Regions from separate parts of the Homo sapiens genome. Here region 2 is linked to region 1. Evidence: promoter capture Hi-C in 16 types of primary human blood cells and fetal thymus (Javierre and others, 2016). All regions are on one chromosome and are shown on one strand. The core of a region is centred on a gene start or on the middle of the fragment in contact, and the rest is flanking DNA. Distances in the headings are between cores, read along the strand shown.

What was found. Contacts are between HindIII fragments. The CHiCAGO score rates a contact against its expected background, and 5 or more counts as called.
Region 2: a fragment that was not itself captured here is called in contact with the fragment with the promoter of KYNU in region 1 in 1 of 17 cell types (monocytes); the score reaches 8.8 in monocytes.

Annotation. Positions count from the first base shown.
Region 1 is chr2:142,875,560-142,881,731 of GRCh38, reverse strand. KYNU (kynureninase) reads right to left here and starts at 4,068. Exons shown (of 14, transcript NM_003937.3): 1 at 3,996-4,068. The HindIII fragment of the contact is 4,288 bases long and covers 3,993-6,172 here.
Region 2 is chr2:147,626,324-147,632,268 of GRCh38, reverse strand. No RefSeq gene overlaps it. Among named protein-coding and RNA genes, the nearest start is that of ACVR2A, 220 kb to the left of the region's middle. The HindIII fragment of the contact is 717 bases long and covers 1,874-2,590 here.

The DNA.
Region 1 (6,172 bases), core at 2,819-5,318:
TCAAATAAGTATTGAACATGCAGGTAGAAATGTCAAGCTGGTCATTGGATATTTGAGTGTATAACTTAGGGGAATATTGGATCACAAGATATGTTTAATATTTCTCAATTCAGACTGTACTTAATGTCTAGAACTTCTGGGGGCCCAAACTCACACAGAACTAAAGCTCTAGAATTCAATTCAATCTCCATTCTTCTGCCTCCCTTCACCTTTTACCTTAACTAACACACACAGTGTTTGGCAATAAAGAGTTGCATATCTGAGTGTTAGATAATGCCAGTAAAACAGACATTCTTCTTACACTCTCGATTTTCATTCTTGTACTTTTTGGGCTTCTTCTTTTCTCAACTGTCGATGGTCTCCACTGATAAGCCATTCTTTATATTCCTAGACAAAGATACCAAGGTTCACCATTGCATGTTTTTTACTTTGATATCAGTTGTGACTCCTAACTGCTTCAATCCATGGTTCTGTACAAAAGTGTAGGATTTCAACATTGATGGATGGTGCTTTCAATATCTGACCATAAGTATTATTTGTCCTCCACATGAAATTTTCTATTTCTGTGATTTTTCTCATGCCATTTCCTTTGCCTAAAATGTTTTGCTCCCCTTCAACTTGTTTGGATTCTAGCCAACCTTCAAAGACCTAATGCTCCAATGCTTTTTTCAAGAGGCCTGTTAGGATGTCTCAGGCAAAAGTAGCCCGTCTTCCTCTGAACACCAATAACAATTAAGAGCACACTTATGTACTTTACTTACGATAATAATACATTCTGCCAGGTACTATATTTATTTGGACATATGTATGGATAGGAAAGATCAAAAACATTTGCTATGCCTGAAACTTGATTCTAAATGGCTCCCCACACATAGCTTTCTGATGAAGGAAACTGCATTTTGAAGAGAGATCACTGTGTCTCTACCGCTTGGCATTATCAATTGCCTGGTCATAGTTTATTAGACCTCTGTTGGACACTTACCCACTAAAGACAATGTAGTTTCATCAAAGATCTGTGAATTATTTGCTATAAAAGCTCTAACCAAACAGTGATGATGTTTAGCTGAGTACATAATCAAATTCTTTCAGGAATCTGAGCTGTGGGATGTGCTTATTCATTCAGTTAGATACAGGAGCTAGAATTTAAAATAATCATAGATAGAAGCTATGAAATGCTAGGGTCTAGGAGGAATACTGTCATAGAATGACTCATTTTTCAAAGTAAAACAGAACCACTGATTGTTAAAGCATGAAAAGCATGAAGTGATTCCAGCAGCAAGTAAGAGTCACTTAGTTACACAATGGCAAGGGATTGAACAGCTATGTCTCCTGAAAAGGTGACAAGACAAGCCCATCTTGCAAGTCACTGAATCCTTCATGCAACATGCTATGTGCAAGTCTCCAGGGGACCCATCTTCTTGGCTATTCCTAAAATTCCATGAGATGTTTTTCTGCCTTACTATCAGATTAGTCTTACTACAAACATATTACTGATGGTAGCTGGACTGAGTTGCTGTTCTACCCTACTGAACTGAACTCTACCTGGGGGCCTGAATCATGTTTAATTTATCTTTATAGACATCTCATTTAGACAGAGTACCCCTGCCGCCAAAGTGGCAGTTCGAGAGAATAAACAAAATTGGTTGATGAATTATTTGACATAATGACATATTACTAGAAGGGCACCCTCTCTCATTCTGACCATATGAGAAAGACTTAGACAAACATTTCTAATGAAATTCAGAATCAAGAGAGCTTGCCTTATATTTGAGACTTTCTTTGGGAGGTCAGCCCTTTGAGTTGATTGGAGGTGACTTTAAACTCTAAGTGGGGTTACTTAAATAAAGAGATTAGTTTGTTACCAACAGATTCTGAATAAAATTCAACTTTCCTTATTTTAAAAATGATACTCATTAGCGTCATTCTATCTGTATCTTATTTAATGCTTGTAATAATCCTGAGGCATCAGAATCCTTTTCCTCTATATTGAGATGAAAACCTGGCACAGACAGAGTAGAAACCAGTGGACTAAAAGGATAGCAGAGTGCACAGTAGGGTACTTAACCATGCCTGAGATGCTGAGTCCATTGTGCTGGTCTTTGGCAAAGCCCATGAATGGAATGCACAGAGCTCAATTCCTCCTCGAAGCCTTGAACCTCTCACTTTATTTTTCCTTGCCTGTTGCTTCCTGATGTGTGTGTGTACGTGTGTGTATTTCTTCAGCTCATTCCCTTTTTCTTTGGCTTCTTTTTTCAGTCCTACACTTAAGCTGCAAAGGACCACAAGCTACGTATGAATTGATTTACCTTTTTAATCCATCCTTCCCAGTCCAGTTTCAGCCAGGCAAAAGTTAAAGTGGCTGGTTCCGCTCCTGGGCCTGTCACATCTGGGGTACCTTGAGATACCTGATGGGCATAGTCTTCCAAATGACTGCACCCTGCCCTACTCCACCACTTGCACAACTTCGCATGGTCTCAAATATAGTCTTTAGTTCCCAGAATAGCATAGTGCACTCACTCTAAGGATGCAATTTATTCACTCATACTAATTGCTGCTTAATTCTGCATTCACCCCAGCAGCTAAGACAATTAGTGTTCACAAGCCATAATGTTATGCCATGTTTAGTTTGCAAATAAAGTGACATGCTCATATTCTGAAAGGAAGAACTTAAATCCAAACTTTTAAAAACTTCAACTTTTACATATTTTACAAATTTTCAAATGTTACATATTTAGTGTTAATTTTATCAAGACGGGGGACATACATACCATATGGTCTCAGACAAATCACCTAACTGCTCTGTATGTCAATGTTATTTAAAGTTAAATTTTACTTTCTTCAAAGGATTATGGTTAAGCTCAAATGACATTAGGTCCTTTATAAAAAGATAAAAGATAGTTTGTAATATTTTTTTAAATTATCAATACCTTCTGATGGACAGCATCAATGTGCCTTCGATTTAGGTTTGGAAATTGTGCTTTCACAATTTTATTTAGACAGCTACAACTTTAAAGTAAAAAGCTTGTATAATAATTAAAAACTGATTGATTTTAACGAAATCACAGAATTCAGAATCTCCTAGTCACCCACTGATTTAGGGCTAAATAGTTAAATAAATGACTGAGTGTCTGGTAGTTAATCTTTACACAGTTTCACATTCATGCCTGAAATAAGCAAATTGTACATAGGAGTTCAAAGTTTAGAACCTGACTTAAAAATATGTTGAGAAAGCGTGTAGTTTTTCATTAGTAAAGAAAAAAGGAAAAACAATATGCATATTGAGCAAGATTCTTTAAGCATATCATTGAGAAATGGGTAACATTACTCTGCTACGAGTGTATATTTCATATCTAGGATATGAATTACTTGCTGAACACGTTAAGAAAATCAATACATTTGCTTCAGTGTTACTACTAAATAACACCCCACTGGCCTCAAAATAAAAGCAGAAAGGAAAAAAGAAAATCTAGTATATTTTTAAAAAGTGTATCAACTTTCTTTTCTTAGGTTTCATAAAATGAAAGGGGAAGAAACTCTGTTCAAGAGTAGGCATTTTCACTTCTCTAAATAAATATTTAATATGACTACTAGCAGCATAAGACAATTAAAGTTACCAGAAAACAGAGGACTTAAAATCTGTTTAAGAATATCTTTCCCTCGTCTGGAGTTTGACCTAATCTTACCGCTTAAACTCAAATAAGAACAGGACTAACTTTGGTTTGTCAAATGTAACCATATTCAGTGCACTATGTTCATCAGTTCTTTTCTATTACATTAGTAAAGATCTTTTCATTTAACCCATTTCTAAAGGTGGGGCCTTTAGGAAGGTCATACCATTTTTATTTACAAAAAGAATATATATAAAAAAAGAAGAGAGTAGCAGAAAAAAACCTCTAAAACACTATGACAAGGATTCTAGCTGACAGAAGTTTCATTTGGAAAAAACATGGAGTAAACATTAGGGTAGAGAGTTTTTATCAGCGCCTCAAGCTTACCAGCTAGGATCCCAATGGAGTGTTTGGCTCCCAGAATCTCTCCAAGAACCTCTCAAGAATTCCTTGAAAATGTACAGGCCAGATCTTAGGGTGAGAAATTCAAAGAACTGCTCAGACTCCACCCAGTGGAGAATTTATAAATATTTTACTTTACTTCCTCTCCCCTAACCAATCGGTAATCTCCAGCCACTGTCAGAAATTTAAGCAACATGTGCTCCTGCCCACCATTTCAAATGCCAGAGCCTCCAGTGAGGGCTTCTTTCCAGAGGCAACTTTGCTCTTTAAACTCAGGTAAACACACACTTGTCCTTTAACTATATAAATCTCTGACCCCTGAACTGATGAGTTGGTCTTAGAGCTAAATTCCAAATTTTGCCTTTCTTCTTCACTTTGAGCTCTGGATTTTTGAGACAATACCCTCCTTCAAATACACTGAGGATTTTCAGTCTGATGGTTGAATCTATGACATTTAATGGGTAAACTTTTTAGTCAAAAGTTTAAAATAGGCTCTCAATTCCAGAATACACTCTATTGCCTAATATGTGAGTTTTCAAAAACTCCTAGGTAATAAATCTGGACAGTTAACAAGACAATGAAGGAAGAAAGATCTGAAGATTCAAGTGGAAACTAGCCTGGCAAACTTCATTAATGCAAATTATTCATTTAAGTCTGTGAATTGTCTTTTGTTCTAGTCTGACTACCTCTTTAGGCTTATTCCTGAGCTTGGGTCTTTTGATGAATATCCTTGTAGTTATAAAAACTAAGAGCAAAGACTTTCGATATTAGGACTAGGGATGAAGAATGTGCTTGAATAATTGAATGACTTATGCACACCTATGCTTTATTTAGTAACCCACAACAAATCAAGTAAAGTGTCATTTAATCATTTCTATCAAGTGTTCATTGTATAACCCTGAGCAATTCACTTAACCCTTGTGGAGGCTCAGTCTCCTATTTATCAAATGAACTTAATAATACCTTCCTCCCAAGATTACTGAAACGATAAAACCATGCAGGTTGAAGGCCATAGATACCATGACACTCAAGTCAAAAGTGACATATTGTCTTTTTTTTAATCTTAAGTAACCAGACAAAAAGTACTACTCTCCAGTTTCCAAGAGAGGGAGATAAAGTGCATGAAATTGCTTTAATACGAGTAATTGACCAGTGAAAATAAAATATATTTCACTTCATTGATCCTATCCTTACAATAATCCTATAAAGTAAGTAGACTACCAATTGATTAACTTAGAATAGTAAAAGTTTGAATCCATTCAGGAAATTTCAGAAGGTGTACTTTTTTTGCATCTATTCTGTGTATGCCTCATGCTGTAAAAACTTTGGAAGATTACCAGGCTCTAATATATGGGGAGCGAACCAGAGGGCGGATCTGTGTCATTTTTGTGTCACTCTTTTAAAGACTGACTATAGATTTAGAGAGCTAGATATGGACATTAAGGTTTTGTTTTCACAAGATCTTGCTTCTTCTAAAATCTTGTAATAATATGATTAAAAATTTCATCAAAATATTATCTTAAAAACTACTGTTTAACTTGTCACCTTTAAAGAACTTGCTTGGAGGTCTAAGCTATACTTCTATTTCTTATGTTTTATAAATTTCTTTCTTTCTTTAAATTTGTTACATTTGAGGAATAAAAATAAAATCCCAAGCCCCTAGATTAACTGAACGGACACGCTCTTGGCCAAGGGGATCCCAGAGTAAACTTGAAAACTAAGTTTTTGGCCATGACAGGATAGGAAGTGGAACACATACCCGCTCCATCACTAACTATGATTAGGCTTTCTGCCCTATGGCTAAAAAGAAACCAGTCATTTCAAAAGATTACACCAATGACATCAACCATCACCTGGTGTTATCCCTCTCTTTTGTGGTTTGGAACAAAAAGAAAATACTGATCATGGAATGTTTCTGGCTAGTCTATGGAGAATGTGCAGTAAAGGTTTTCATGTCCTCTGCTTCACATTGGGCTGAAAACTGCCCCCTCAGATTGTATTAATGCTGTCATTTTTTGAACACGGATCCCATGGAGAAGCATGAAACTCCATTGTGCATGTGCACATTTCTCCTTTCACAAATATTCATGGCTTCCCCTATAGCTTATTGAATATATATATTCAGCTACCCTGCTCAACATAAATTTCTGTTTCCTTTGCTC
Region 2 (5,945 bases), core at 983-3,482, 4.8 Mb before region 1:
TTGTTAATGCATTTTTTCAGTGCTATTGTATTTGTGGTGGTATGAACTCTTTAATTAGAAAGAAAATTTTATTGGTAGAAGAAATGACTTCATTTTTTAAAAGCATTCTTATATACCCAACATGGTGATCGGCATGCCATAGTTTCTTTAAATAAAGACTAATTCACATACTAATGCACCTAGAAACTACAATGTCCCAGCATAATTCTGCCATGGCTATTTAGGAGAAAAATGAAAAAAGAAGAGCCTGAAGCAATAAGGGCCTAAAAGGAAGAGAACTGGATGTGGGAAGATTTAGTGGTCCTAAGAATCTTTGGGAAAAGTTGAGAAGTAGGACTGACAAGAGAGGACTGATGAGAGGTGACTGGTAATTTGGCACAGGTTAGCAAATTAACAGTGCTAGTTCAAGGAGAGGAATCTAAGAAGGCTTTCCCCTTCAACTATTTAGTCTTCACTGCAGAAGAGAACAAACACATTTAATATGAATGTTTTCTATCCCTGCCACTGCTTATCAGCAAGACTTTCCCTTGCTCCAATGTCAACATAGTCAGGCTACTTTTTGACTTGGTTGGCCAGCCATTGATCCATTCAAACCCAAGCTGTTGGCCTCAACCTTTCCTCCTTGGCATCAATTTGATTTATCTCCTAACTTCTGGGTTCCAGGCTCTAGCTGTGAAGTTTCCCACTTCCTTTAGAGTTCAAGACACCTGATTTCCTCTTTTTTTGTAAGGCTATGATTGTTGATCACTTAGGCTGAATGTCTGTATGTGTGCTGGTGGCAGTGGGGAGTGTGTGGCTGAAAGGAAGTAAACAGATCCTGACGGTGCATCAGTTGTTTTCCTCCTTCCATTGTGGTTAGGTGTGTCTCCTGCAGTCCAAGAGGTCAGTCAGGGAAGGAATCACTACATTTCCTAGTCCTTAAATAACTTCTGCCTGAAAGAATTTTTGATTGATGAATTTTATGAGAAAAAAATCTTCAGAAAATGCTTTTGGCAATCTTCAATAGGACAGATGGAAATGTGCCTGGCAGGGTCTGATGTTCTAGGATGAAGTTTCCATCATCTTTTGTCTAGTCACAGAAGGTACTTTGGAGTAAGGAAAGTAAAGCTGAGTTTGATGTGGGCTCATTTGGCTAGGATATGCTAGTCGGACATGCAATTTTTTGGCATGGGTGTCTAAAGTTTTCTGTAGTAAATAGGGATCTTAGTGAACATTTGATAAAGAAAACATAAAACCTCAACAATTGCAGTCATAAAAAGAAAACATTAAAATAGAAATCTAAAATCCATGTGTCTGTAAGAATCTGTACATGTAGACAAAAACGTGTTTATGGGTCAGAGCAGAACCAGAGCCACGACGTAAGGAAAGATCTAGGTTAGATCAACTAAGCAATGAATGCTCCTGGCAGGTTTACTGAGCTTCCGGCTGAGCAAAGGTATTCTGCAGTTTGTATTTTTGATGTGTGTTGTTAACTAATTAAACGCATGCAGCCTTCCTGTGAAGTGAGTCAGTGTTCCTCATTTCACATATGAGGAAACAAGGGCAGAAAGGATAAATGACTTGCCATTTTGCCAGCCAGAAGCATCACCCAGACATATTGCTAGCATTTCCAGTGAGGTTTCAAAGAATGACTTTATATTTCAAATTTAGTTTGGGTTCATGCAAGGCCGCTGAGGTGAAATTTTCAGGTCTCTAAAGCCACTCACTTGGTCCTGCCTGAGAGGTAGATAATGGTCAGTGAGGGTCTACTTGGAAGGTGTGGGGGTTTTAAGTGCTTTTCATGGTGACTTAAATGAGCACTTGTCTTGCTTTCTTACTGTAAACTTTCCACCCCGAGTGCCATTTATGTACTACACAGAACAAAGAGCAAGCTTGCTGGAAAACTAATTAATTCAATAATTGGTGGCAAAGAAACTTGAAAGCTGGCCAGACCAGCAACCTGGTGTGATTTGTAGCAACAGAATAGAAAAATACCTGAGGAATGAGTTCCATGTTTATTTTTTGGGTACTATAATCATTGACAATAAGAGAAGGGGCCATTGAGAACAAACATTATGAATTCAATTTTTCTCATGTGTGGTGGGAGCTTTCTGTGTGGAGTGACCCCCGCATAAGACAGAGCACTCGGAAGTGTGTTGCTAGTAGAGTAGGAAGTAAGCAGAGTGTTATGGGAGAGAAAGACTGCATCAATCCGCAGATATTAGTGAAGAGGGTGTGATTTCTTAAGCAAACGGTGCAGAGAGAGCGCAGAAACCAGAGTCTGCAGATGGTGTGATAGTTAATTTTATGGGTCAACTTTACTGGACCATGGGGTGCCCTGATATTTGGTCAAACATTATTTCTGGGTGTATCTGTTGGGGTGCTTTGGATGAGATCCACATTTGAATCCATAGATTGAGCAAAGCAGATTTTCCTCCCTTATATGGGTGGGCCTCATCCAATCACATGAAGGCCCGAATAGAACAAAAAGGCTAAACCTCCCTTGAGTAAGGGGGGATGCCTCCCACCTCACTGCCTGAGCTGGAACATTGGTCTTTTCCCGCCTTCAGACTCAAACATTGGTTCTTCTTGGTTCTTCAGCTTGCAAGCTTTCTGACTGGAACTTATGCCATTGGCTACCCTGGTTCTCTAGTTTGCTGATTGCCAACTGCAAATCTTGGGGCATTTTAGCCTCTATAATCATATAAGTCAATTCGTTTTAAATCTCTCTCTCTCTTTTTCTATATGTATACACATATATATTCTATTTTATACACACATACATATGCATATATATAGTCTATTGGTTCTGTTTCTCTGGAGAACTCTCATTAATACAGTTGAAAATGGGGTTTTAGGACACATCCAAGATTTTGAAGGATAAGATTTTACCTGTGGGTGGTGGTTGTCAGTGGCAGGAAAAGAGGGCAATGAAAATCCAGTATTAGGTGAGAGAGACATACCAGGAAGATGGGAAAATGTAGACTTGTGGGCAGTGAAAGATTCCAGCTGTGTGCTCCATTCCACAGTCTGTAAGTGTAGAGATTATCACTACTGCATTTTGCCAATGGGAAAGGGAACTAATTAATTAGAGGAAAGGAGGATCTTACAGTATTGGGAAATTTTAAATTTCAATGGAGAAGTTGTCAGAATGTTTCAGAATGAGTCAGAAGGAGCTAAATATTTAGGGGTGCATGGTTTGTGAGCATATGATTCATAGGGGGAATTTTACGTGCTAAAAATATCATTGAGTAAGTGGGTTTTTCTGGTGGTTTTTTTTGGAGTTCAAATTTCCCTTATTAGCAACAAAGCTCTAATATGAAGTGATTATATACTTAGAAAACTATCTTTTAAAGATGAAACTCAAATAATTTTGTAGATGAATTTTAATATGGTAATTTCTTATAATGACCTTTCTTAAATGTACCTTGAGAACAAATATCAGCAGGTGTTGAATGGCTGGATGAAGAGCCTTGTGTCAAGTTCTGAGTAGAGGTTCAGAAAGGAATAAGCAAAGATAGAATCTTTATAATCAAAAGTCCAACTTTCAAGATGTATCAAAATACCTAAAGATTTCTATACCAATTATTCCTCTAAACTCTTTCTAGGGATCGAGCTTACAGTAATAATCCAGAATATGGAAAAAGTCACTGTACAAAGACATTAAGATATTATTAATAAATGTAAAATATAAAAAATTTTGAAAAATAAGAAGCAAGCATTATTCCCATGTCTTGAATAATGTTGAAATAAATTATAGCACACCCACTTAACAGAGTATGCTATTTATATACTATTATGCACCAATAAAATGTTGGCTATGAAGACTATATAATAAATATGGGAAAAGTGTATATATTTGTGTTAAATGGAAAGATTAAGATAATAGCATTTAATAATAAACTAACATTTATTTAGTACCTATTAGCTAATATCTCAATTTTACATTCTTTACATGTTTTAACTCATTTAATTATCACAATCGTACATGGTACGTATTATTATTACTCCCATTTTGCAAATGAAGGAACTGAGACAGAGGTTAAGTAATTTTCCAAGGTTACACAGCTGGAAGTAGAGCCCAGGATTGGAATGCAGGCCATCTGGCCCAGAGATGGGATATAAAATTATGTTTATTGTATGATTAAAACTATCTATTAGGATAAGGTGGAGAGAGAATGTATTGACTTTAAAAGGTGAAAACACTTTTTATATACAACCATATTTCTACAAAGCTGTTATCTTCTATGATGCTCTACTTACCCAGCCACTGAAATAAACATGATCTTGTCAGTCCTGAAAGTACTGAATGGATTGTGTGACTCCTTGGAGGAACATGGGCAGTTGTTTTCTTGGCATTTTAAGAGTGATCTGCAGTGGTCTTAAGTATAATTTACCATTTGTCTTCTCCCTTGTGAATCTGGTTGCACACAATTGGAAACCAGAGGAGGTGCCTGATATTGGCATGGATACACCCAAATAAAACTTTGCAAGTTGATACTACCCTTTGAGGACATTGTGGAGCCTACACTTCAGACTCACACAAGACCATTTTATAAGAATATTATATGACATTTAGTTGTTATTTACAGTTCAGAAGTCATTTTCATCATCATCTTACAAAAAGATTGCCTTTATTTTGCAGATGAAGAATTAAGGTTCTTCTAGGCAAACCTTGAACGCAGCAAAACAATGAAAAAAAGCAAGAAGAAAAAAAGAATTAAGGTTCAAAGATCACTTAAATTGCAAAGCTCAAATTCAAACTCTACTATTCTGTTCTTTTAAACAAAGATGTGATCATACTATTTATATATCTCTCTCTCTTCTTCCCTGCAGTTTGCTTTTCTCAATACTATATCATGGACATCTCTTGAAGTTAATATGTAAATCTGACTTCTTTTTTTTTTTTTTTTTTTTGAGATAGAGTCTCACTCTATTGCCCAGGTTGGAGTGCCGTGGTGTGATCTTGGCTCACTGCAACCTTCACTTCCCTGGTTCAAGTGATTCTTTTGCCTCAGCCTCCCAAGTAGCTGGGATTACAGGCACGCCACCATGCCTGGCTAATTTTTGTATTTTTAGTAGAGATGGGGTTTTGCCATGTTGGCCAGGCTGGTCTCAAATTCCTGACTTCAGGTGATCTGCCTGTCTCAGCCTCCCAAAGTGCTGGGATTACAGGTGTGAGCCACTGAGCCTGGCCAGACTCTTTCTTTTGATAGTTGCATGATAAGCTGCACCATATGGATCCATTGCTATCTATTCAAACTTTCCACCCTTTGTAGACAGGTAGGTTGTTTCAAGTTTTTGCCATTACAAACACAACTGCAATAAACTTCCTTATTATATATGTATTTATGTACTGATACTTCAATTTTTACAGGATTGATTCCCAGAAGTAAAATTGCTGAGTCAAATTTTAATATGACTTTTAAAATTTTATAAAACTTTAAAATGCTTTTAAAATTTTAATATATATGTGAGCTTCCTTTCTAAAAGGCTGGATCAAAGGCATTTCCGCTGATGAGGTATGAAAGTGCTTGTTTGTCTGCATCCTCACCAGCACTGGAGGTTGTCACTTGTAAATTTATTCTAGTCTCCTATAGAATGATCCCTAGTATTCTGACTTTATTTCTAGACCTCTGTCTTTTCAATCAAGATATGATAAACAACAAACATTTTGGGCCCCCAAATTAAAAAAATAGTTCTCTTTAGGAGATTTTTCATAATCTATTAGGCTTGAACTCTCTTAAGAGTCTGCTTTTGGCCTCAGCCACTGCTTTGTATACACACAACATATCAATAAATAATAACCATTATGGTTGAACATTAAATTTGACAGTGTAGTAAGTTATGAACAAATCTCCTCATTAGCAGCACTATTATTTTGGTGTTTGCAGCAATCTAGTATTCACAGCTAAGTTGAGACAAGAGCCATTATGTATATAAGACATTTTTAGCTCATTTACTCT